7 separate regions of the Homo sapiens genome follow, and regions 1, 2, 3, 4, 5 and 7 are each linked to region 6. Evidence: promoter capture Hi-C in 16 types of primary human blood cells and fetal thymus (Javierre and others, 2016). All regions are on one chromosome and are shown on one strand. Each heading gives the region's core, a stretch centred on a gene start or on the middle of the fragment in contact. The rest is flanking DNA. Distances are from core to core; before and after follow the strand shown.

Region 1 (2,851 bases), core at 101-2,600, 460 kb after region 6:
GTACTTTTTTTTTTTCTTGAAACAGGGTCTTGTTCTTTCACCCAGACTGTAGTGCAGTGGCATGATCATACTTCACTGCAGCCTCAAACTCCTAGGCTTAAGCAATATTCCAACCTCAGCCTTCTGAGTAGCCAGGACCACAGACACATGCCACCATACCTGGCTAATTTTCTCTACCTTTTATAGAAACAGGGGGTCTCCCCATGTTTCCCAGGCTGGTCTCTAACTCCTGGCCTCAAGTGATCTTCCCGTGTTGGCCTCCCAAAGTGCTAGGATTTCAGGGCTGAGCCACAGTGCCCAGCCCCCACGTAATTTTTGAGGATTAAATAAGATATAGAAAACACTTAATCCAGGCCAGGTGCGGTGGCTCACGCCTGTAATCCCAACACTTCGGGAGGCTGAGGCAGGCAGATCACCTGAAGTCAGGAGTTCGAGACCAGCCTGACCAACATGGTGAAACCCCATCTTCACTAAAAATACAAAATTAGCCGGGCATGGTGGCGCATGCCTGTAATCCCAGCTACTGAAGAGGCTGAGGCAGGAGAATCACTTGAACCCAGGAGGCGGAGGTTGCGGTGAGCTGAGATCGCGCCATTACACTCCAGTCTGGGCAACAAGAGCAAAACTCCGTCTCAAAAAAAAAGAAAAGAAAACACTTAGTCCAATCCTGGAGAGTAGTAATAAGTCCTCACATGTTTTCAATGGTGACGTGTCAAACCCCTCACCGTGAGGGTTTCCATATCCAGGCTCTCCCCCTCCTGCCACCCTTCCCTTTGGTGCACTGCTTCCTCCCTGAGGCAGCCTAGCCAGCACTTCAGAGCATGAACTTTGGGCTCCACGGCCCCATCTTTAAGCCCTGGCTTCTCTACTCACTAAGTCTGCAAACACAAAGACGTGTCTTAGTTCTCCAGGCCGTGGTTGTCTCATGTGTAGAATGGGGATAATAGTGGCATATGCCACATCCGTGCTGTTAGGAGGGCTAAGTGAGACAGCGGCAGTAAACCACCGGGCACATGGGATGTGCCCCTCAGTGCCGAGTCTCAGAACTCTGCTAGATGCTGTGGGCAGGAGGACTAGAACAGGAATGAGGTCCATGCCCCAGGAGCTTGCAGTCCAGAACTCCATGCTGGCAAAGAGGCGTCTTGGTCCAGGCTCACTCTGCTCAACATTGGGGTGAGCTGGGGCCACAGATCTCTGCACTTCAGCACTCCTTTACCCCATTCCCCTCCCCCTCCTTCACTGCCATCGTCAGCCAAATCCTGTTTCCTTCACACCTGAGATCCACAGACAATTGGGCTTAAATCCGCACTTTCTCACTGTGTGACCTTGACCTTGGGCATGTTGCTTAACCTCTCTGAGCCCATTTTCTCACCTGCAGCTGTAGGGACCAAATAAGATGGAGCAGGCAGCATTCCTAGTCCAAAGCCTGGCACTGTTTCCAGGTTGAACTGTTCCCTCCATCCTTACTTTCGGTCCTAAGTGCAAACTTCTCTCTCTGCCATCTCCTCTCCAGATATATACTGTGCCCAAACACTTCTTCCAACACAGTGTGCCCTGTGGCTCCTGTTGTATTGGAATCAGAGTCTTCTGCATTCCACATCTTCTCTAGAACCACTCTTTCCATTTGCATCTTAGGGTAGAAACAGTGGCTCTCTCCCAATGTTAGCTCTCCTCACTGGGGTAGATTATTGTGTTTATGGCTCCAACTTTGTTCACTCTTTCTTTTTTTTTTTTTTTTTTTTTGAGACAGGGTCTCACTCTGTCACGCATACTGGAATACACAGGTACAATCACAGCTCACTGCAGCCTCAACCTCCCAGGCTCAGGTGATCCTCCCACCTCGGCCTCCTTGGTAGCTAGGACTACAGGTGCCTGCCACCACACCCAGCTAGTTTTTGTATTTTTTTTTTTTTTTAGAGATGGGATTTTGCTGTATTGCCCAGTCTGGTCTCAAACTCCTGGCCTCAAGTGATCTGCCCACCTCGGCCCCCCAAGTGCTGGGATTACAGGTGTGAGCCACCACACCCAGCCCTTTCTCCATCCCCTTATCTTCCCCTTACCTGATTCAGTACTTGCTGTGTGACTTGCTTCAGCCAATGGGACAATAGCAATGTGTGGCAAGAAGATATTTGGAAAGTGTTTGTGCCCTGGGGCTTGTTCTCTCTTGTGGCTCTTGGAACCCTCAGACAATCAGAGGAAGAGCGGCTCCAGTCATCCCAGCCATCTCAGCAAAGATGTCATAAACCCCACAACCCGAGCTGACCTATGAGCTGACCAAAAATGCAGGAGAGATTTAGGCCCAACAGAAGAACCATCCTGCTAAACACAGCCCAAATTGTTCACCTACAAAATCTGAACGTAATAAACAAATGATAGTTTAAGCAACTAAAATTTAGGTGGTTTGTTACACAACAAAAGCTAACTGAGGCCGGGCACAGTGGCTCATGCCTTAATCCTAGCACTTTGGGAGGCCAAGGTGGGTGGATCACCTGGGGTTAGGAGTTCAAGACCAGCCTGGCCAACATGGTGAAACCCTGTCTCTACTAAAATTAGAAAAATCAGCCAGACGTGGTGGCAGGAACCTATAATCCCAGCTACTTGGGAGGCTGAGGCAGGAGAATCGCTTGAACCCAAGAGGCGGGGGTTGCAGTAAGCCAAGATCATGCCACTGCACTCCAGCCTGGGTAACAGAGCAAGACTCCATCTCAAAAAACAAAAAGAAGCGAAAAAAAGCTAACTGATACACCCATGCCTACCGTGCAGCACTCAGGTGTTTTGGATGGCCTCTAATTAGTCTAATCCAATCTGGATAATCCCAGTCTCCTTGCCACAGGCTCTGGGATGAATAGAA
Region 2 (3,064 bases), core at 231-2,730, 440 kb after region 6:
GGAAGGGGGCAGAAAGACAGCTGCTCTCATGACCAAGAAGGTTCTACATGCTCTAGGGAAGCTGGTCCCATTAAGGGAAGTTGCTCTACCTGCACTAGCAGATGGAGAGTCCCTGCTGACTGGCTGCTGGAGGAAAATCACTGCCATCCATTTCTGTTCCCTAATGAGAGATGGAAGTCTGGGACCTACACACCTCGTCAGCACCGTGGAGAGTTGCCTGCTCTTGGGCCTATAGAAGACAGTGGGGCTCTCAGTCTGGTAGGAAGAAAGGAAGCAGAGAGAGAGAACAGAGAAAGGAAGAACAGACAGAGTGAAAGCCAGAGAGGGAGAGAGAGAGAGAGGAGTGAAGAACAGAGACAGACAGATAAGCAGAGATGGAGTACAGGAGTCATAGAGATAGACACAAAGAAAGACACACAAGCAGACATACAGAGACTCAAACTAAGAGAGAAAGAAACAGCAACATTGCATAGAACAAGGACTTTGATAGAATTTAAACCCTAGATTCAAGCCCCAGCTCTTTAGCTCTCTTGAGTTATACAGCACAAATAAAAGCTAACATGTATCAAGCACTTATTATGAGCCAGGCTCTAAGTTAAGTACCTCCACACATCACAGTCTTTGATCCTCACAACAGCCCTACAGAGTGGGTACTAAAATCATCTTGATTTTTCAAATGAGGAAACAAATCATGTCAGCTGGGTTTCCACTGCCAAGGAAGCACTCTGCAACAGAACTGGGGTCTTCTCTCCTGAGAACCATGCGTGGTTTTTGGCTACTAACATCGAAAATGCCTTTTACATCCCCTAATGCAGCTGCCTCTTTACTAAGGCAGGTTCTCCCTAAAAACTGAGGTTCATCTTCCCATACTCTACTTAGTTAAAAGAAGCATGAAAACACCAAGGCTGTCCTTACCTCAAGACTTTCACACTTGCTGTTCCTCTTGCCTGGAACCCTATTCCCCAGATCTTCAGACATCACTACTTCATATCATTCAAATCTGCTGCAGTGTCACTCCCCAAGGAGGCCTTCCCTGAATTCCCAATACAAACATCACATACACACATGATCACTCCACCTCTCCTTACCAGGATTATTTTATTTGTGTATTGTTTTCTAGCTCTCCCACGAGAATATAAGTCCCAGCAGGCATAGGACTTTATCTTCTTCATAGTTGTATTTCTAACTCCTAAAAGAAGGCACTCAATTAATATTACTGAATGAAATTTGAATGAATGAACTCTTCTTCCTGGAACCAAGGAGTATTGGTCGGATGCTGCCCAGGAGCCAAGAGCTTTAAGCTAGAAACTAAGGGAGATGTGCCTCTGACTCCATCCAGGATCCACACTGGAGGCCCCATGGGGAAACAGTCAATAAACTGAGTCTTATCTGGACTTTATGGTATTTCGTTAGAGAATGTGAACACTGGATCATGAGAAGTCACACAAGGGGCAGGGTGTCACAGCATCTCCATTAAGCAGCCATCTCTAATGGATGCTGTGGGATGCTGCCCAGATCCTCCTTTAGGACAAAGGCACTCATCCCTCCAGCTCCTGGAAATGTTGGTGGCTGATGACTCCCAGCTGAGTTGCTCTCCTGGAATTGCCCTCTACTGAAGAGCAGCCTCATCCACAATCCCTCCTCCTACTTCCCTGGGGGACAGCTGCATCCGATGATTGGTCAGTGAAAGGTTCCAAAGGGCTGACTCTCCAGCCTCAATTCAGGACCATGCCAAAGGGCCGCCTCCACTCCAGGGCTCCCCAGGGGAGTAGCTGAAGCTCTTTTGCAGTTTTGTCATAGCTCAACTCCTTCCTCTGCCTAGTCATGCTTCCTTTACCAGATATTGATCATGGAGGCACTTCCTGATAAACTTTGTGCATTTGGAGATTCATCTCAGAGCTATGTGCCAGGGAACCTGACCCAAGGCACCATAAGTACTCATGCCTTCTATCCTTTATCTGGACAGCAACAATGAGGAGAAAGCTCTTCCTTACACTCACCCGAAATATGCCTCCCTAATGGTGTCCTCTCATTCATAGCCATCAGTTCTTTCCCTCAGGGACACACAAAACAAGTCAAATCCCTTCACCCCCAATAGACTCTCAGATATTTAAAACTGGTCATCGTGTCTCCTGAGAGCCATCTGCTGCCCTCTCCAATCTAATCAACTTCACTTTCTTCAACCTTCTAATATGGAACATCCACATTTTCCTGCTTGCTTTTACGAAATTCCCATTCCCCTATTGAAGTGCATCAATTACAAAAACAGAACACGTGCCCCATGTTTATGTAATACCCCTTTATGTAACCACCACAAGCACCGGTCGGGGCCACCTTGATGCTAGAGGCAAGGACCCCTTGGGTTTGGGCACACTTGGAATTATTTTTCTATTTTGGTCACTTCTCCTGAAACTTGAGTTCTTTCCTTTGGAAAAGAGCACATGTAGGCAGACCATTCCCCCAACTTGGGCACAATCACTGATCATTCTTTTCATCAGAGACTTTGCTCTTTTGTTCTAAACTACAATTTTTGACCAAAATGAATCTAGCTCTTCTGTCACCCCACAGGGGTAATAGCTAAGAATCTCGCTGGTGGCAGAGACAATCTTTCCTTTTTATAACTGGCTTCGGTCAAGTTGCAAATCGAATGGATACTGCTCTGTTGGGGGACTAAGAACACACTGTAAAACAGGCTGTTGTCTTTAAGAAGAAAAAAAATCTCATATTAATGGGCAAGACACATGTTACTATGACTACGGTTTTTAAAAGATTATGAGCAAGCCAAATGTCTTCTATTATTCATAAAGAAAAAATAATGTTTTGCCATCACCCACTGATGTGCCCTGCATCAAGATACACTGCCTTTTATTTGAATGTGTGGAAGAGAACAGCAGTTCAATGTATTTTGTCAGCGTCGTTAGCTTCTCCGGAGAGAATATTGGAACACTGTTGATGACGGAGCATCCATTACGCTGCAGACAACTTCTTCTGAAGCACTAATTTTCTCAGTATTGTGCAATCTAACTTGTGGATCTGCACTGCACATCAGCTCCGCAGTAATGCA
Region 3 (3,025 bases), core at 66-2,565, 350 kb before region 6:
TGTACTTTACTTTTCCATCTTCCTTGTTGTTAACATCTACCTTCTGCTCTGTAAGCAAAACTAAATCTTCTGTGCTTTGTCCATAGGTTGATTCTACAATCTGAAAATCAATAAACAGCATTTGCATGATTGTGGCTGTGTAGGTGTGTTTCCCCACAGGGCCCAGCGCAATGCTTCCACTGCATTGCTTTCTCTGTGGTTCCAATTTCGTGACCCCTGGGACACCAGAATGAGGATATTTCTGGCATCTGGAGTGATAATGTACATTTTAACATGGCAGTGTTTTATGTTTTTCTTCTCTTCTCCTCTTCCTTTTTTCTTTTTCATTTTTTTTTTGAGATGGAGTCTCACTCTGTTGCCCAGGCTGGAATGCACTGGCTTGATCTCGGCTCACTGCAACCTCCAACCTCCACCTCCCAGGTTCAAGCAATTCTCGTGCCTCAGCCTCCTGAGTAGCTGGGATTACAGGTGTGTGCCACTGTGCCTGGCTAATTTTTTGTATTTTTAGTAGAGACGGGGTTTCACCATGTTGGCCAGCTGCTCTCGAACTCCTGACCTCTGGTGATCTGCCCACCTCGGCCTCCCAAAGTGTTGGGATTACAGGCGTGAGCCACCGCGCCCGGCCTCTTCTTCCTTTTTTCTTGCAGTACTAGAAGGTTTGATGTGTAAGCCTTCCCACCCTTGAAGAAAAGGGGTTTCAATTTTTGGATGATTAGGCTCAGTAGTCCAGTGGGCCATAGTATGAAGGAACCACGTGAGAGAGGAGATTTTAGAAGAGGTCAGAGGAAGGGGATGTTATGGCCTGCAGAGGGAGCAAGGCAGGTGTGTCCTGAGGCCAAAGCGAGTGCCTCGAACTGCAGAAGGTGGAACAGGGAGGGAGGCTGGGGCCAGAGAGCCAAGGGGACCTTCACTGCTGCCTCCTGGCAGCGCTGCCTACGGGGAAAGGCCTGGATGTTGTCTGGGCAGCCAGAGTCGAGTGTGGCTCAGAAACAGATGAGGGGCCTGGCAAGGGGCATTACTTCGGGGCCAGGGACTGTGGCTCGCAGACTTCCCAGTCTCCTTTGCCCTGTCCATTGTCTGAATGTAGCTATCCTACCAGCTACCCTTTCTTTTGGGGACAACGAGCAGCGAGGGTGCCCCCCTCATTTGTGGTGAGAACGTGGCCTGTGGGCTCCCTGGCTGGACAGAGGCCCGAATGCAGCCTATGCTCGGGCTTGGTCCTGTCCGGCTCATCCCGTGTGGACAGCTCCCCTTCTGATGCCTCTGGATGTCTGAAAACAGGAAAAAGGGGATAGGGACCAGGAAGCCCATAGCATGTGGTGGAGATACCCTGGAGAGAGGGTGCACAGGGACCCTTGTCCTATTGTTACAATCCTCTGAAGGCAGAGGCTGGGCCAGTAGAACCACTGTTCAGAAACTGCCGCATCCCACACCCCATCTTCCTAGTGCAGAGGAGGCGGGAGGCAGACATGGGGAGAGATGCAGGCAGCCTCCCATCCAGGGCTCTGGTTGCTGCATGGGCTTCCTTCTGCTCCCTGAAAACCAACCTAAAGGAAGGGCGTGGCTGGTCAGGTCTGGGCGGGCAGTTGCAATAGTTTGCAGGGCCTCTCTTCCAAGGGCTTCTTTCCCGGAGATCCAGCCGGAAGGCTTTGTTTTCAAGTTGCCAGCAGGTGGCAGCAGAGACCAAGCAGACGGGTCCCCAGGGTAGGAGATGGCCGCTTTGGGCTCCGGATGTGGCGGTTCTCCATCAGCCCTGACCATCCCTGACGCTGCAGGTCACAAGGTCAGGCAAGCTGATGACAGGAAAGGAGGCATTTAGAACTATGGAATGAGGCTGCCAGCAAACTAGGTCCTTGGAGGCAACTCAGTCCCAACCCCTTGTACAGATGGGGAAACTGAGGCTTAGAGAGGGGCAGTAGCTCCAGGATTAGCATCAGGTTTCCAGGAGTCTGGGCTGGGGCTTTCTTTTCTTTTCTTTTCTTTTCTTTTCTTTTCTTTTCTTTTCTTTTCTTTTTTTTCTTTTCTTTTCTTTTCTATACTGTGCTGCCTCCTTCACTGGATGCTTCGTATGTGGGTATGATGCATTTTTTTTTAAAAAAGGAGAGAATGTGAAACTTCTATCAGGCAGCAACCTGCGGCAATGCCAATAGCCTTTGTTTGGGAGCAGTTGGAAGGGTCAGCACGAAACGACCTTGTGTGGGTTTTGAAGCCCCCTTTGGCCTGGCACGTCCTCAGGAATCATTACTAGTTAACCAAACCAAGGCATTTGCTCCCAGGCAGGAGCCACCATACTGACCTCTGGAGTTGACAGACACCCTGAGACCAGGGAGTCCTTTGGGTCAGCAGTAAGGGGCTGAGTGGCCCGAGGGACACCCCCTTCCTCGGGTATTGTGCAGGGGCAATAGTTTCCCATGGTGGATGCAGCAAATTACCACAAACTTAATGGCTTAAAACAACACACACGTATTCTCTTATAGTTCCAGAGGTCAGGGATTCTAAAACGGGTTGGCAGGCAGGGCTGTGTTCTTTCCAGAGGCCGGAGGAGAGAGTCCATTTTCTTTCCTGCCTATTTCAGCTTTTAGAGGCTGCCTGTATTCCTTGCCTTGTGGCCCCTTCAAAGGCAGCAATGGAGCATCTTCCACTCTGCGTCCCTCTGCTTCCGTCACCATGAGGCTTCTGCGGGTCCCTGACCCTCCTGTCTCCCTCTTATAAGGACCCTTGTGCTTACATTGCCCCCACCTGCCAGGTAATCCAGGCTCACCTCCCCACCTCAAGGCCCTTAATGTAATAATCACAGCTGCAAAATTCCTTTGCCTTAGAAAGTAACCTGCTGGGCGCGGTGGCTCACGCCTGTAATCCCAGCACTTTGGGAGGCTTAGGTGGGTGGATCTCTTGAGGTCAGGAAATCGAGACCAGCCTGACCAACATGGTGAAACCCTGTCTCTACTAAAAATACAAAAATTAGCTGGGGGTGGTGGCACGTGCCTGTAAATCCAGCTACTGGGGAGGCTGAGGCAGGAGAATT
Region 4 (3,184 bases), core at 315-2,814, 390 kb after region 6:
GAAAGAGTGACAGGTCCCAAGCAAGTCCAAAACCTTAGGCTTGAGAAAAATCTTCTTTGGCTCAATGCTCTGCCCTCCGGGCCCACTGGTGTGGAAGTCTCATCCCTAAAGGCTTGCAGGGTAGAAGTTGGGCACCCAACTTCTAAAGCTGCCCTCACAGCTTTGCTGGATACAACCCCTGCCACAGCTCTCACAGGTTGGAGTTGCGTGCCTGTGGCTTTCCAGTGCTGGAATCACACACTGATGCCTCTACTGTTCTGGGGTCTCAGGGTGACCTTTCCACCTTGGTACTACTAGGCATTGCCCTACCAGCGGCCCTCTATAGTTTTCTGCCTGGGTGGCACACCCATGACTTCAGGTGGCTCCATTCTTAGAAATCTAGGTGAAGGTAGGCTTGCCCCCACAGCTCATGCACTCTGAGCACCACGCAGACACAGCCAAAGTCTGCTGCCTGTGCTTTCTGGATGGGCAGCCAAGCAGCAAAACCCTGGAATGCAGTGGAGTGGAGCCTGTGATATGAGGGATGCTACACAAAGCCTGCAGGGGTCCAGCAGGCACCTGCAGCCCGTCCTATGAAGTTGTTCTGATGATCTCTGGAGCACCTTGCTATGGAAGGGGTTCATTCTTCCATCGTCTTGAACAATAGCCCCTGGCTTCTGTTCAGATGGCTGACAAAACTCCATGTAAGATGTGGCCATTGGGCCACACCCTTAAAGTTCTTTAGGAACAGACCTTTTCATTCTTTACAATATGGAAAGGCTGAGAAGTTTCCAAATCTTTAAGTTTGGCTTTCTTTCTGATTAAGAATTCCATCTTTAAGTCATTTCTCTCTTTTTTCATTTTACTATAAGAAGTCAAGAGAAGCCAAGCTGCTCTTTCAACACTTTACTTAGATATTTCCTCAGCCAAATATCCAATTTCATTACTCACAAGTTCTACCTTCTACAAACTACTAAGACACAAACACAATTCAACTAACTTCCTTGCCACTTTGTAAAAAGGATGACCTTTCCTCCATTGTTCAATAACATCTTCCTCATTTCCATCTGATGCCTCATCAGAATGGCCTTTACCATCTGCTATGGTTTGAAAGTGTTCCCCAAAGTTCGTGTGTTGAAAATTTGATCTTCAATGCAGTAGTGCTGGGAAGTGGAGGCTAATGGGAGGTGTTTGGGCTATGGGACCACTGCCCTCATGAATGGATTAGAGGACTTTTATTATCCTGGAAGTGAGTTCCTCATAAAAGGATTAATTTGGCCCTTTCTTCTCTCTCTCTCTCTCTCTCTCTGTCATCTTTCACCATGGGACGACACGGCAAGAAGGCCCTTGCCAGATGTCAGCACCTTGATATTGAACTTCCCAGCTTCCAGAACTGTGAGAAATTCTCTTTTCTTCATAAGTTACTCTGGCATTTTATTGTAGCAGCACAGAATGGGCTTAGACACCATCCATATTTCTACCAGCATTCTTGATTACTTAGGTATTCTCTAAGAAGACTGAGACTTTCCCTACAGCTCCCCTCTTTTCTTTCTAAGCTCTTACCAGAATCACTCTTAATAGTCTCTTCACAGCAATGTAGGCTTTCTCTAGCATGCACCTTAAAACTCTTCTAGCCTTTCCACATTACCCTATTCCAAAGCTGCTTCCACAGTTTTAGGTATTTGATACAGCAGCACCCCCACTTCTCCGTACCAATTTCCTGTCTCAGTCTGTATGGGCTTCTATAATATGAACTAAAAACTCCATTAAAGCAAAGTCTGTGGGTATTTTGCTGACCCCAGTGTCCTAGAACCCAGCAAAGCCTTTCACATAGTAGACACTCAAATAAATACCTGTGAGTGAATGAACGAAGGTGTTCTCACAGCTGTCTGCCTTTGCCCACTCATACAATGGCTCACCCAGTACTGAAATTTACTGTTGAGCTCTCAGCCCCAGGAAGCCAGAGACTGTGTCTGTAATGTTCAGAAAATGTCTGAGGGACACAGCTCATGGCTAAAGAACAGAAAGGCCCTCATCATATTGACTGACTGAATGAACGAAGAGGAAATATAACTCTGCATACAGGCTTCAGAGTTAGATATGGGTGTTCTGGGAGTGACCTCGAGCAAGTTACTTAATCTCCCTATGCCCCAGTTTCTCATCTACAAAATGGGAATGATAAGACAGCTTTTACCCGTAGAGTTATTTTACGGATTATATTAACTAGCAGTTGTGAAACCCTTAACACAATGCCTGGCACAAAGTCATCACGTAACTGATGCCTAATAGTAACAGTTGTTGTTATTATTAGGCTCATTAATACTCGTCAAGAACAGGTGCTCAGAACAGGCTAGCATCCCTTTAGGCAATGAAGAGCATCAACTTCTGTTGAAGCTCTTGTTGAAGCATGAAATTTCCTTCCTTCCCTTTATGCAAAAAGACAAAAAGCATGTTCGATTTAGGCTCGAGCAAAGAGCTCTATATGAGACTACAGGAAGGTGAAAATGACTTCATTTTCATTCATCTTCCCTGGGCTTTTTCCTCTGAACTGGCAGCAGAGCTTTAAGCATTTGACATTGGCTTGTCCTGATTCATTACCCTGGCCATTTCCTGCACACCCTCCTCTGCCAGCTAAGTTGTAAAGCACGGCTCCAGATGGTCCCCATCAGAACTTGAGGGCTCACCACACAAATGGAAAGCACCTGGGTTGCCTCTCTGCTACTTCTTGCCTTGCAAAGCTATTTCCTTCCCTGATATGCTTTTTTGTCTGCCATCCCCAAGAAACACTACCAGCCCTCCATTGTCATGTGGAAATGACCTCCAGGTAATGGCTTTTAAAACACCAAATTGCATCAAGTACAAGGGATGCTGAGAGTCCCATCTTCAGCAAGGAATTTTCCCCTGTTTGGTTTGGCCATCCAGTGGAGCATTAGACAGCAGTTTAATCATTATTACCGGTGCTGCACTGCGACTCTCTGGAGAAGCACTAAACTGGAATGAAAAGGAACTGACATAATTAGTCTGACACAGTTCAATAGGGAACTATTACACCAAAGGTAATGAGCTCCCATGATATGTTAATGTTATTGTAAGAAATTATGCTGGTGCAACAAAGTGGCTTTGAGTTGGGGGCGGGGAGGAGGAGACAAGCTATTCCCAGGCAATACACCAATGCAAAACAAAACTTGAGAAGGCTTATAAAATG
Region 5 (2,905 bases), core at 303-2,802, 480 kb after region 6:
GTTGCAGTGAGCCGAGATCGTGCCGCTGCACTCCAGCCTGGGGGACAGGGTGAGAGAAAAAAAAAAAAAAAGAAGGAAAGGAAAGGAGAGGAGGGGAGGGGAGGGGAGGAAAGAAAGAAAACTGGATTCAACCATTTTGTGTACTCACAGCACATTGTTCTGGAGCGACTCAGTGAACAAATTTACATACATATAAAGATACATGATAAAATTAAAATGTTATTACCTTAGTATGTACAGCAAGCAAAATTAAAACAAGAGTAGGGAGAAAATAAGATGAAACCAGGAGTTAACACTGTAGACATATCATGTGCTTTAAGATTGAACTTGGCATGTACATTTTTAAGAGATGGGCCAAACCTCTGACTTGAAAACCTCCCAGAAGACAAATAAAAGATGCATGAGTCTAGTTGCTTGATGCCGTGGTTGAAAGACAAAAATAATGAACTCTCAAGAGAAGCATATTTCTTTTTTTTCTTTTTTTTTTTGAGACGGAGTCTCACTCTGTCGCCCAGGCTGGAGTGTAGTGGCGCAATCTCGGCTCACTGTAACCTCCGCCTCCCGGGTTCACGCCATTCCCCTGCCTCAACCTCCCGAGTAGCTGGGACTACAGGCACCCGCCACCATGCCCGGGTAATTTCTTTTTGTATTTTTAGTAGAGATGGGGTTTCATCATGTTAGCCAGGATGGTCTCAATCTCCTGACCTCGTGATCCGCCCACCTTGGCTTCCCAAAGTGCTGGGATTACAGGCATGAAGCACATTTCTGAACCCAAATTTTTATATGTGTGATCTCTTCAACCCAGAAATTCCTTTTCTGGGACTCTGTCCCTTGGAGGTACTCACATGTGTGTGATAAGATACACTTGTGTACGAAGTTGGTTATCACCATGTGGCTGGTAACAGGAAAATGCAAATGAAAGCCAGCTAGATTTCCATCAAATTTGACTAATCAAATAAATTATAGTAGATCCAAACTATGAAAAACTCAACAATTACAAAAAGAGAAGAAAGAACGACTTAGATCCATATGTACTAACATGGAGGGATCTGCAAAATATTTTAAGAGGAAAAAAATTCACTCCTAAAAAACTTAGATCCTATATATTTGGCACATAGAAAAGTAACTGTGTTCATGTAAAACTGTGTTTTTTTTTTCGTGGAACACTGAAACATTCATGTAACATTGGTTATTCCTGGGAAGTAGATCTGATGGTGCAGAAAGTCAAAAGAACATTTTTATTTTTCCCCCTACATATTTCTGTATTATATTTTTATAATCCTAATAAATCTAAACAACAAGATGAAAATGTCATTTTAAAAGTTACATGTAATTGGATAGTAGTATTGCATCAATGTTTTAAGCTTCCTGAATTTTATCATTGTACAGTGGCATATAAGAAAACATCCTGATTCTTAGTAGATACTGCCAAAGTTCTTAGAAGTAAATGTTATGGGCCAGTTGTGATGGCTCATGCCTGTAATGCCAGCACTTCGGGATGCCAAGGGGGGGGGGGGTGCAGATCACCTGAGGTCAGGAGTTCGAGACCAGCCTGGCCAACATGGCAAAACCCCATCTCTACAAAAATACAAAAATTAGCCAGGCATGGTGGCAGGCACCTGTAATCCCAGCTACTAGAGAGGCTGAGGCAGGAGAAACGCTTGAACCCAGGAGGCAGAGGTTGTAGTGAGCTGACAATCGTGCCACTGCACTCCAGCCTGGGCAACAGAGCAAGCTTCCATCTCAGGGGAAAAAAAAAAAAAAGAAGTAAATGTTATCATATCTGCAACTTACTCCCAATAATCAGCAAACACAATTAAAAGATAAAACAATAGTAAATGTTAATAATTGGTGAATGTAGGTTAAGGTTATATGGGAGTTCACTGTACAACTCTTGACATTTTCCTGTAAGTTTGAAATGTTTTCAAAGTAAAAAGGGTCTCTGAAAAGTTATGCATGACTTCCTCCGTTTAGCATAGAGACCTGGGTGTGCCTTGCCTGGTTTCTAAGAGGACCTTATTGGTGGGTGTTTTAGGCCTATAAAGCAGGAACAAGTCATTGTTCTTTACTGAGATTTAAATGCAGTTAAGATCAAATGAGAATACTCAGAGTGAGAGATGCGTTCTGTTGTAACCGATGTAAATTGACTGTGACCTTTGGCTATCGTGTGTTCTTGGAAGATGGTGATGCGGGTATGTGTATTCTTGTCCAAGTTCACAGGACATTAAAGCAGACCATGGTAGGGGCAACACCAAGTCCTAATATTTCCTTCACTTCACACTGGAGGAAAGACTAGAAGGAGGAAGAGGAGTAACAGGGAGAGGAGGAGGGCTGGATGAACTAGACTATGTTTTTTAACAAAAGATTTCACCTGTTGATGTTCAAAGCACCGTTTTATCTAAGCCTGAAACACACCAACTTGGGGGAAATGAATTGTCAAACTATTGAGATGATCTTGTTGGGTCCATAACACTGTTGGATACAGTGAGTTCCTTTTCAAAGGTTCCGCTTGTTCAATTCTCTCATTCTTTGTCCTCTATTTTCAAAGCCTAACTGTTCTGCCTCCTTGCCCCTAGTTACAGTAAACAACCTTCCAGCCGTTCCCAATCTGTAACTCACATCCATTCCCAGTCTGTAACCCACATCCATTCACAATCTGAAACAACCCACATCTGTACCTTATTTGGCCAAAACTGCTCTTCCCGCTGCTGTAGCCCCCACCCCTGCTCCATTTGAAGTAGCCAATCAGGATCAGCTTAGACTGCGCAGTCCAACTCCAGCCAATGGGGCCCGGACACAGCATCAGGGACTGACTGGGTCAGGGATAAAAACCCCTTCCCTCCTTTGTTCAGTGTGCTCTTGCAGTGGCCAGAAGGGCAAGCGAGACCCTTCTCCAGAAGTAAAT
Region 6 (2,979 bases), core at 239-2,738:
TAAGTGTGTGGGGGTGGGGGCATGATTGAGAGAGACAAACCTCATTCTCCCATAGCCCAAGGAAACCTCCCCTAGCTCTCTCCCCAGCACCTGCAGCCACCAGGAGTGGGTGATTGCAAACAGCGCAGGGCAAGCCAGCTTTATATCTCCTGTAACTTTCACTCCCCACCACCCTCACTTTCTGTGCCTGACAACCTAGGCAAATCAGAGGAAAAAAGAAAGGCCCCCACTCCTGATGCCAAAGTGGGATAAACCAAGTGCCTCCATAAACCTAAGCATGCTGTTCCAGCAACAAGAGGGATGCGGGTATCTCATGTTAGAAAAGTACAGCGGAGTCCTGCATCTGTCCATCTTGGGAGCTGCAGGGGCAGGGCCAGTGTGGGGAGCAGCTGGATCCCAGTGCAGGGCTATGAGGCTAGAACTCCTATATGAGCCTTCCCACTGCTCAGCGGAAGGAAGAGCGGTCCCCTTCCCCACCCGCATTCCCGATCAGCAGAGCAGGCATCATCCCAGGCGCACAAATGCTCAGGAAAACCACCAGCGAGGTTACCCGGAGGCAGGGGACCCAGCCAGGTACGTACGCTCCTGAGTAGCCAAGAAAAACGCAATTTAGCAACCTTCAGTCGTGAGTCTCCGTCCACACCTACGAAGACGCAAAGCTCTACACTAGGTAATTTTCTGGACAAAATACATACGTTTTGCTTTTGCCTCTGCCTCTGTTCAAGTTCACCAAGAGACGGAGCAAACCCTCCGCTGACCGGAAGCCTCTCTTGGTAGCGGAACGAGAGGGAGCTGCTTCTGGGTAAACGTCGCCGCCTAGGAGGGAAGCTGTGCGCACCCCACACCCTGCCCTCGCCCCCTCCCCGGGACCAACCGCAGCGCCCTCCCGGGTGACGGACGGGCTCTCAGGACTCCGGAGGGGGACGCGGCTCGTGCGGCGCCTCGCGCACCCCCACCCCATCCCGGCCGCGCCGAGCGCCGCCCCCGCCCCCCCACAACCCCTGCACGCACCCGCTCACTCTCCCCTGCCCCGGCCGAGCCGCCCCGGGCCCCCGGGAAGGTGCCCCCGGCAAGCCCGCCCTGCAGCCGGAGCAGGTGCAGCCCCGCCGCGCTCCCAACCGCGTCTGCACAAACTTGTTTGCCCGCGGCAAGGGGAACACCCTGCTCGCAGCCCGCGCGGGGGTCCGGCTGGAGCGCCGAGAGACAGGACTCACCCCGCGATCGCGGCCGGCTGGGGCGCCCGCACCCGCGCCCATGGCCCGCCTTCCCCGGGCGCCGAGCCCGCAGCCCCCCGCAGTGCCCGGAGCCCAGAAGCCCCGGCGCCCGCACGTCTCCGGCCGCCCGCGGCAAGCGGACCCACGCGCCCGGGCACAGGGCGCCGCCGCCTGGCTCCCCGGGGCTGCTGGCGTCCGGGCTGAACGGCGGGGCGGGCGGGCGGGCGCGGAGCCGGGGCGGGCAGCGGGCGGGCGAGCGGGCGCCGGGCTCTGCACATGCTCACTCGCGCGGCCCGGGGACAGCGGCCGGCCGCCGCCGGGTCCTAGAGGCGCCGGTGCGCACCTCCCGCCGCCCGGGGGAGGGGTCGCGGCTCCGCCGGAGGGGGCCCACGCCCTGCCCCGGCCCGCGAGAACACGCGCGCGGGGCGGGCCACACGCGCCACTGCCGAGCAGAGACGCCGCCACCCACTCTGATACACACACACACACACACACACACCAGTCACCCAGAGCCACAGCCTTTCACCGGGGCCCCACGGGCTCTAACACACGCACCATGACGCTCACACCCAGACACAGACCCACAAACACACGGGGCACTGCCGCGCAGAGGAGAGCACGCCGCCACTCTCCCATGCAGACTCACAGCGACAGCCGCACACTGCCTGACACACACATCCCGAATCACTGCTTCCCAGAGACACCGACACCCACACTCACACACACACTCTCTGGGCTCTGCCCCACTCACCCAGAAGCAGACTGGGCCACTGTGACAGGCACGCACACGTACACACACAGCCACACAGTTTAGAGTGCACTCTAATACACACACACACCACACACGCACGCACACACACACACACACACACACACACCGGATCACCGTCCCATGCAGAGCTAGAGACAGACGGTCACAGCTTCACACACATTCACACTCAGAAACAAGCACCTGCTGGAACACAGACACTCTCACACAATCTGAGACAGACCTACACAGAATTGCAGCCCTACAAATACCCTGACACCAGCTCCCGCGTCTACACACTCGGGGGTCGGCCGCCGGCTTATCATACTGCTCCACACCGCACACAGTGACAAACCCACGCCTTGACATAGTTGCCCACAGAAGCAATGTCACACACTGGTGTCTACTAACAGACACACTCTCAGAGGGGCATACTGGGCATTGACCCACAGGCTCTCTCTCTCTCTCTCTCTCTCACACACACACACACACACACACACACACACACACACACGCACCGAGGTGGAAAGAGGCTGAACAGTCACACAAGTCTATACACAATCCCCCTCTTTAAATAAAGGCTGGATCCAAACCTAAAGATTTTTCCCAGGGAGGAGCCCCACCCTGTTCCCCCAAAGCCGCCAAGTCACAGCATCTGCCCTGCTCTGCCATGTGCACCGGTGGACCCTGTCCTCACCCGGAGCTGGCTGCTAAGATGCTCCCAGAAGCTGAGGACAGCAGAGGCAGCAGGAGCAGGTGGTGGTGCCTCTTACTCCGTCTTCCTAAAAGGGAGTTTCATGCCTCCGACTCCCGCTAGGGGCAGAGCTGCTTGGCCTGGCTCCGAGGAGCTGGCTTGCAACAGGTGCAGGTGGCAGGGAAAGCGTTTGCCTGGGGACCAGTCACAGTCCCTCCTTACGCGGGTCAGTCAGGTGGCGCCCAGAGCGGGAAGAGACTCGCTGCAGTTTGCATAGCTATGTCTGGCCAAGTGCAGAATTAGAACAGAGTCTGCACCATCCG
Region 7 (3,149 bases), core at 70-2,569, 410 kb after region 6:
CGAAAAGGACACCGTGCTCCCCACCAGGCCCTCAGGTAGAGTCCAGGTTCTGCCACGTAAGTCATGTGGCTTTGGGTAAAGCAGCTCAACTCCCTGAACTCAATGTCTTCATCTTTAAAGTGGGAATGATACCTCCATCCCCAATCTCGACACAGCCCAGCTCCCTGCTTCAGACCTGGGGACTGTGGATTCTCACCGTTCCCTCTCAGGCTCCCCTGAGAAAGAGAAGGCTCACATGGCATCCCCTCCCTCCCTTCCTGATCCCCAACCTCCACCTCCCAGCCCCAGATCAAACCCAGTTTACCAGGAGCCAAAACAAGGAGCTCAGTGCAATGGAAAAATCAGCCCAAGCAATTGTCTGACCAAATTGACTTGTCAGTCACCCTGCCCAGACAGGGCCTGGGAGAATCACCTGATCTGCACACAGGAAAGAATGATTTGTAAGCGTTGAGGCCAGGAGGAAAAACACCCAGGAAAGCCCCGACACAGAGACAACAACTCAGTCTGGGTTTCCATAGCAATCCCAGGAGGAACAGGAGGAGCTCATGCCAGGATCATTCAAGAGATGGCAGCCAGCAATCACCTTGCTCCGCCATCCACCGCTGAGCCATCTGCCCCACGTCACTGAAGCAACAGGTTCCCTCTGCAAAGCCACCAACCCACGTGCCCAATCATCCAGCCCCAGAAAAATTTGAGATCTCCCCACCCTCTCTCCAGAGTCTGCTATGGTTTGGGAGAGGAACCCTAAAGCCATGTCCATACAATAATACATGGAAAATATGTGCAATCTTTTTTTGTTGTTGTTGTTGAGACGGAGTGTTGCTCTGTCACCCAGGCTGGAGTGCAGTGGCACGATCTTGGCTCACTGCAAGCTCCACCTCCTGGGTTCACACCATTCTCCTGCCTCAGCCTCCTGAGTAGCTGGGACTACAGGTGCCCGCCACCACGCCTGGCTAATTTTTTTGTATTTTTAGTAGAAACGGGGTTTCACCTTGTTAGCCAGGATGGCCTCGATCTCCTGACCTCATGATCCGTCCGCCTTGGCCTCCCAAAGTGCTGGGATTACAGGCATGAGCCACCACGCCTGGCCAATATGTGTAATCTTAAGTAAAAACATTACATCTACATATTTGTTCTGAGAGTCTAAGAAGAAAGAGCTCAAGACAGCAGAGCTTGCCCCCCTAAAGACTAGCATGTTTTTATGGCAGACACACACCTCAAAATCAGGACCGTGAAAAGTGAGTTACAAATAACTCACTTTTCTTCCTCTGAGAAGTATTAACTACCTCTGAGATTTCAGCATTTAAAACGGTTCTTTTCCTTATGCACTTTGACTTGATCTGTCTGTAGCATTTCTTATTTGGCAATAGGTATTTCCTACACCACCTGCTCTGGAAATAATACGAAATATACTCCAGGTGTGGCAAAGTCCCTCTGTTCTGTTCCAAGTGTGTTTTTGATTGCTCGTGGTACAGGCTGAGGGAGGGAAGTTTGCTAAAAATTTGGGAAATTCAGTAACTGTCGCTGCCTCCTGCACCCGCGGTTGGGGTCTTCTCTACACCTTCTCTTCCACCCTTGCTTCTTTCCAGCTTCTATCCCTTCCTTTGGTGACCCATTGGGTCCTTCTGTTTTGTTAAGATGCTCCCGCTGGGTGCCAGCACAGGCTCTCCCCAACTCCATCCTTGCTGAGTCACAAAGTAGAAGGTGTGTATGGGAGAAACTGGGTGTGGGGTATACGGGAACTCTCTGTAATATTCTTGCAACTTTCCTATACATCTAAAACTATTCTAAACTGAAACAGTTATTTTAAAATAAAATAACCAACCAAAGAGGAGGGTGCGGGCTCTGCTCCCAGGAGCGAGGAGAAAGCGTGGCCTGGAATCCTCATTCAGAGTTTACGTAAGGCCCAAAGACACCACATCAGAGCAAGTCATAATGTTTCCCACATGAGAAAAGGTTATTCCTCCTGTTAAGACAACATTGACCTTGTCCTTTAAGAGAAACTATTCCAGCACATTGTTGTGCTAAGAAACATTTGACTCTGCATTCCCACTGTGAATGACACCCTCTCTGAGGGCATGGCACCAACTCTGACTGGCGTGTTTGTTTCAAATCTCTCTCTCTCTCTTTCTCTCTCTCTCTCTCTCTCTCTCTCTCTCTCTCACACACACACAAACACACACCCCTACTCATTATAATGGAGGGGGCAATGCATCTTGCCACATCATAAAAATTGAACTTGCATGGGGTTAATAATTATTTGAATAGTGTTACATCATAGTGTGTTATTATAATTGTTTGAATGTCTTGGATATAACAGAAGTGGAGGACCTATCACCTCGCTGAACCTGCACAACCTCTCCCTGAGGCAGGCATTGTGACCTCCATTTCACAGCTTGGGAAGCTCATTCAAAGAGGAAGGCCGTTTGCCCAAGCTGTGAGGTTAGTCCATGGTGGAGCTGAGATCCAGCCCCAGGCCTCTCTGCCTCCAGGGCCAAGACGGTTCTCCCTTATTCCACAGCTACTCCAGGCACGGTTTTCTCTTTCGACCAAACAAGACCCAAATTTCAGCAGAGACTCCTGAGACGTGCTGAGGATGGGGGAGATTCCCTGTGTCCATCATCCCAGAGCCAACGCTCTTCATTGAACAACTGTTAGAAGGAATCCCATGTGCTCAGATACATTTCACCTGATATTCTAACACAAGACAGCGGGGGCATCTTGTAGATATTGCTGAATTGGGCAGGAGAAAGCTCCTACCTGAAGTAATGTAACCAAAAGCCTTGCCTGGTTGGTAGGAAACACATCCGGGTTCAAGGAAATGCACCTGCCTGTTCTGACCACCAAGTTCTGTGTGGCCCAAGCTTCTCATCATTTAAGCATGAGCTTAAATGTCACCTCTCAGAGAGGCCTGCCCTGAGTCCCTGATCTCATGCATGTCCTCCTGTGAATCTGAATAGCTTCTAGAGCTTTTTCATAATAACAGCTACCATCATTTGTGAATTTATACTTATTGGTGAGCTCATAAGATTTTTTTTTCTTTTGAGATGGAGTCTCACTCTGTCGCCCAGGCTGGAGTGCAATGGCCTGGTCTCGGCTCACTGCAACCTCTGCCTCCCGAGTTCAAGCGATTCTCCTCCCTCAGCCTC

The links. Contacts are between HindIII fragments. The CHiCAGO score rates a contact against its expected background, and 5 or more counts as called.
Region 1: a fragment that was not itself captured here is called in contact with the fragment with the promoter of WSCD1 in region 6 in 3 of 17 cell types (endothelial precursors, total CD8 T cells and M1 macrophages); the score reaches 8.2 in endothelial precursors.
Region 2: a fragment that was not itself captured here is called in contact with the fragment with the promoter of WSCD1 in region 6 in 4 of 17 cell types (endothelial precursors, M2 macrophages, naive CD8 T cells and 1 more); the score reaches 7.0 in endothelial precursors.
Region 3: a fragment that was not itself captured here is called in contact with the fragment with the promoter of WSCD1 in region 6 in 2 of 17 cell types (endothelial precursors and M0 macrophages); the score reaches 10.0 in endothelial precursors.
Region 4: a fragment that was not itself captured here is called in contact with the fragment with the promoter of WSCD1 in region 6 in 3 of 17 cell types (endothelial precursors, M0 macrophages and naive B cells); the score reaches 6.5 in endothelial precursors.
Region 5: a contact is called between a fragment that was not itself captured here and the fragment with the promoter of WSCD1 in region 6, in 1 of 17 cell types (endothelial precursors). The highest score is 8.0, in endothelial precursors.
Region 7: a fragment that was not itself captured here is called in contact with the fragment with the promoter of WSCD1 in region 6 in 2 of 17 cell types (M0 macrophages and naive CD8 T cells); the score reaches 6.7 in M0 macrophages.

What each region holds. Positions count from the first base shown.
Region 1 is chr17:5,605,122-5,607,972 of GRCh38, reverse strand. No RefSeq gene overlaps it. Among named protein-coding and RNA genes, the nearest start is that of NLRP1, 22 kb to the right of the region's middle. The HindIII fragment of the contact is 3,240 bases long and covers 1-2,851 here.
Region 2 is chr17:5,629,300-5,632,363 of GRCh38, reverse strand. No RefSeq gene overlaps it. Among named protein-coding and RNA genes, the nearest start is that of NLRP1, 46 kb to the right of the region's middle. The HindIII fragment of the contact is 3,470 bases long and covers 1-3,064 here.
Region 3 is chr17:6,420,843-6,423,867 of GRCh38, reverse strand. AIPL1 (AIP like 1 HSP90 co-chaperone) reads left to right here. Exons shown (of 6, transcript NM_014336.5): 6 at 1-130. Among named protein-coding and RNA genes, the nearest start is that of AIPL1, 13 kb to the left of the region's middle. The HindIII fragment of the contact is 7,641 bases long and covers 1-3,025 here.
Region 4 is chr17:5,675,660-5,678,843 of GRCh38, reverse strand. No RefSeq gene overlaps it. Among named protein-coding and RNA genes, the nearest start is that of NLRP1, 93 kb to the right of the region's middle. The HindIII fragment of the contact is 4,030 bases long and covers 1-3,184 here.
Region 5 is chr17:5,588,666-5,591,570 of GRCh38, reverse strand. No RefSeq gene overlaps it. Among named protein-coding and RNA genes, the nearest start is that of NLRP1, 5.6 kb to the right of the region's middle. The HindIII fragment of the contact is 371 bases long and covers 1,367-1,737 here.
Region 6 is chr17:6,068,888-6,071,866 of GRCh38, reverse strand. It overlaps WSCD1 (WSC domain containing 1), which reads right to left and starts at 1,488. Exons shown (of 9, transcript NM_015253.2): 1 at 1,215-1,488. RefSeq lists an enhancer at 1,421-2,252. The HindIII fragment of the contact is 6,207 bases long and covers 1-2,979 here.
Region 7 is chr17:5,654,824-5,657,972 of GRCh38, reverse strand. No RefSeq gene overlaps it. Among named protein-coding and RNA genes, the nearest start is that of NLRP1, 72 kb to the right of the region's middle. The HindIII fragment of the contact is 3,094 bases long and covers 1-2,866 here.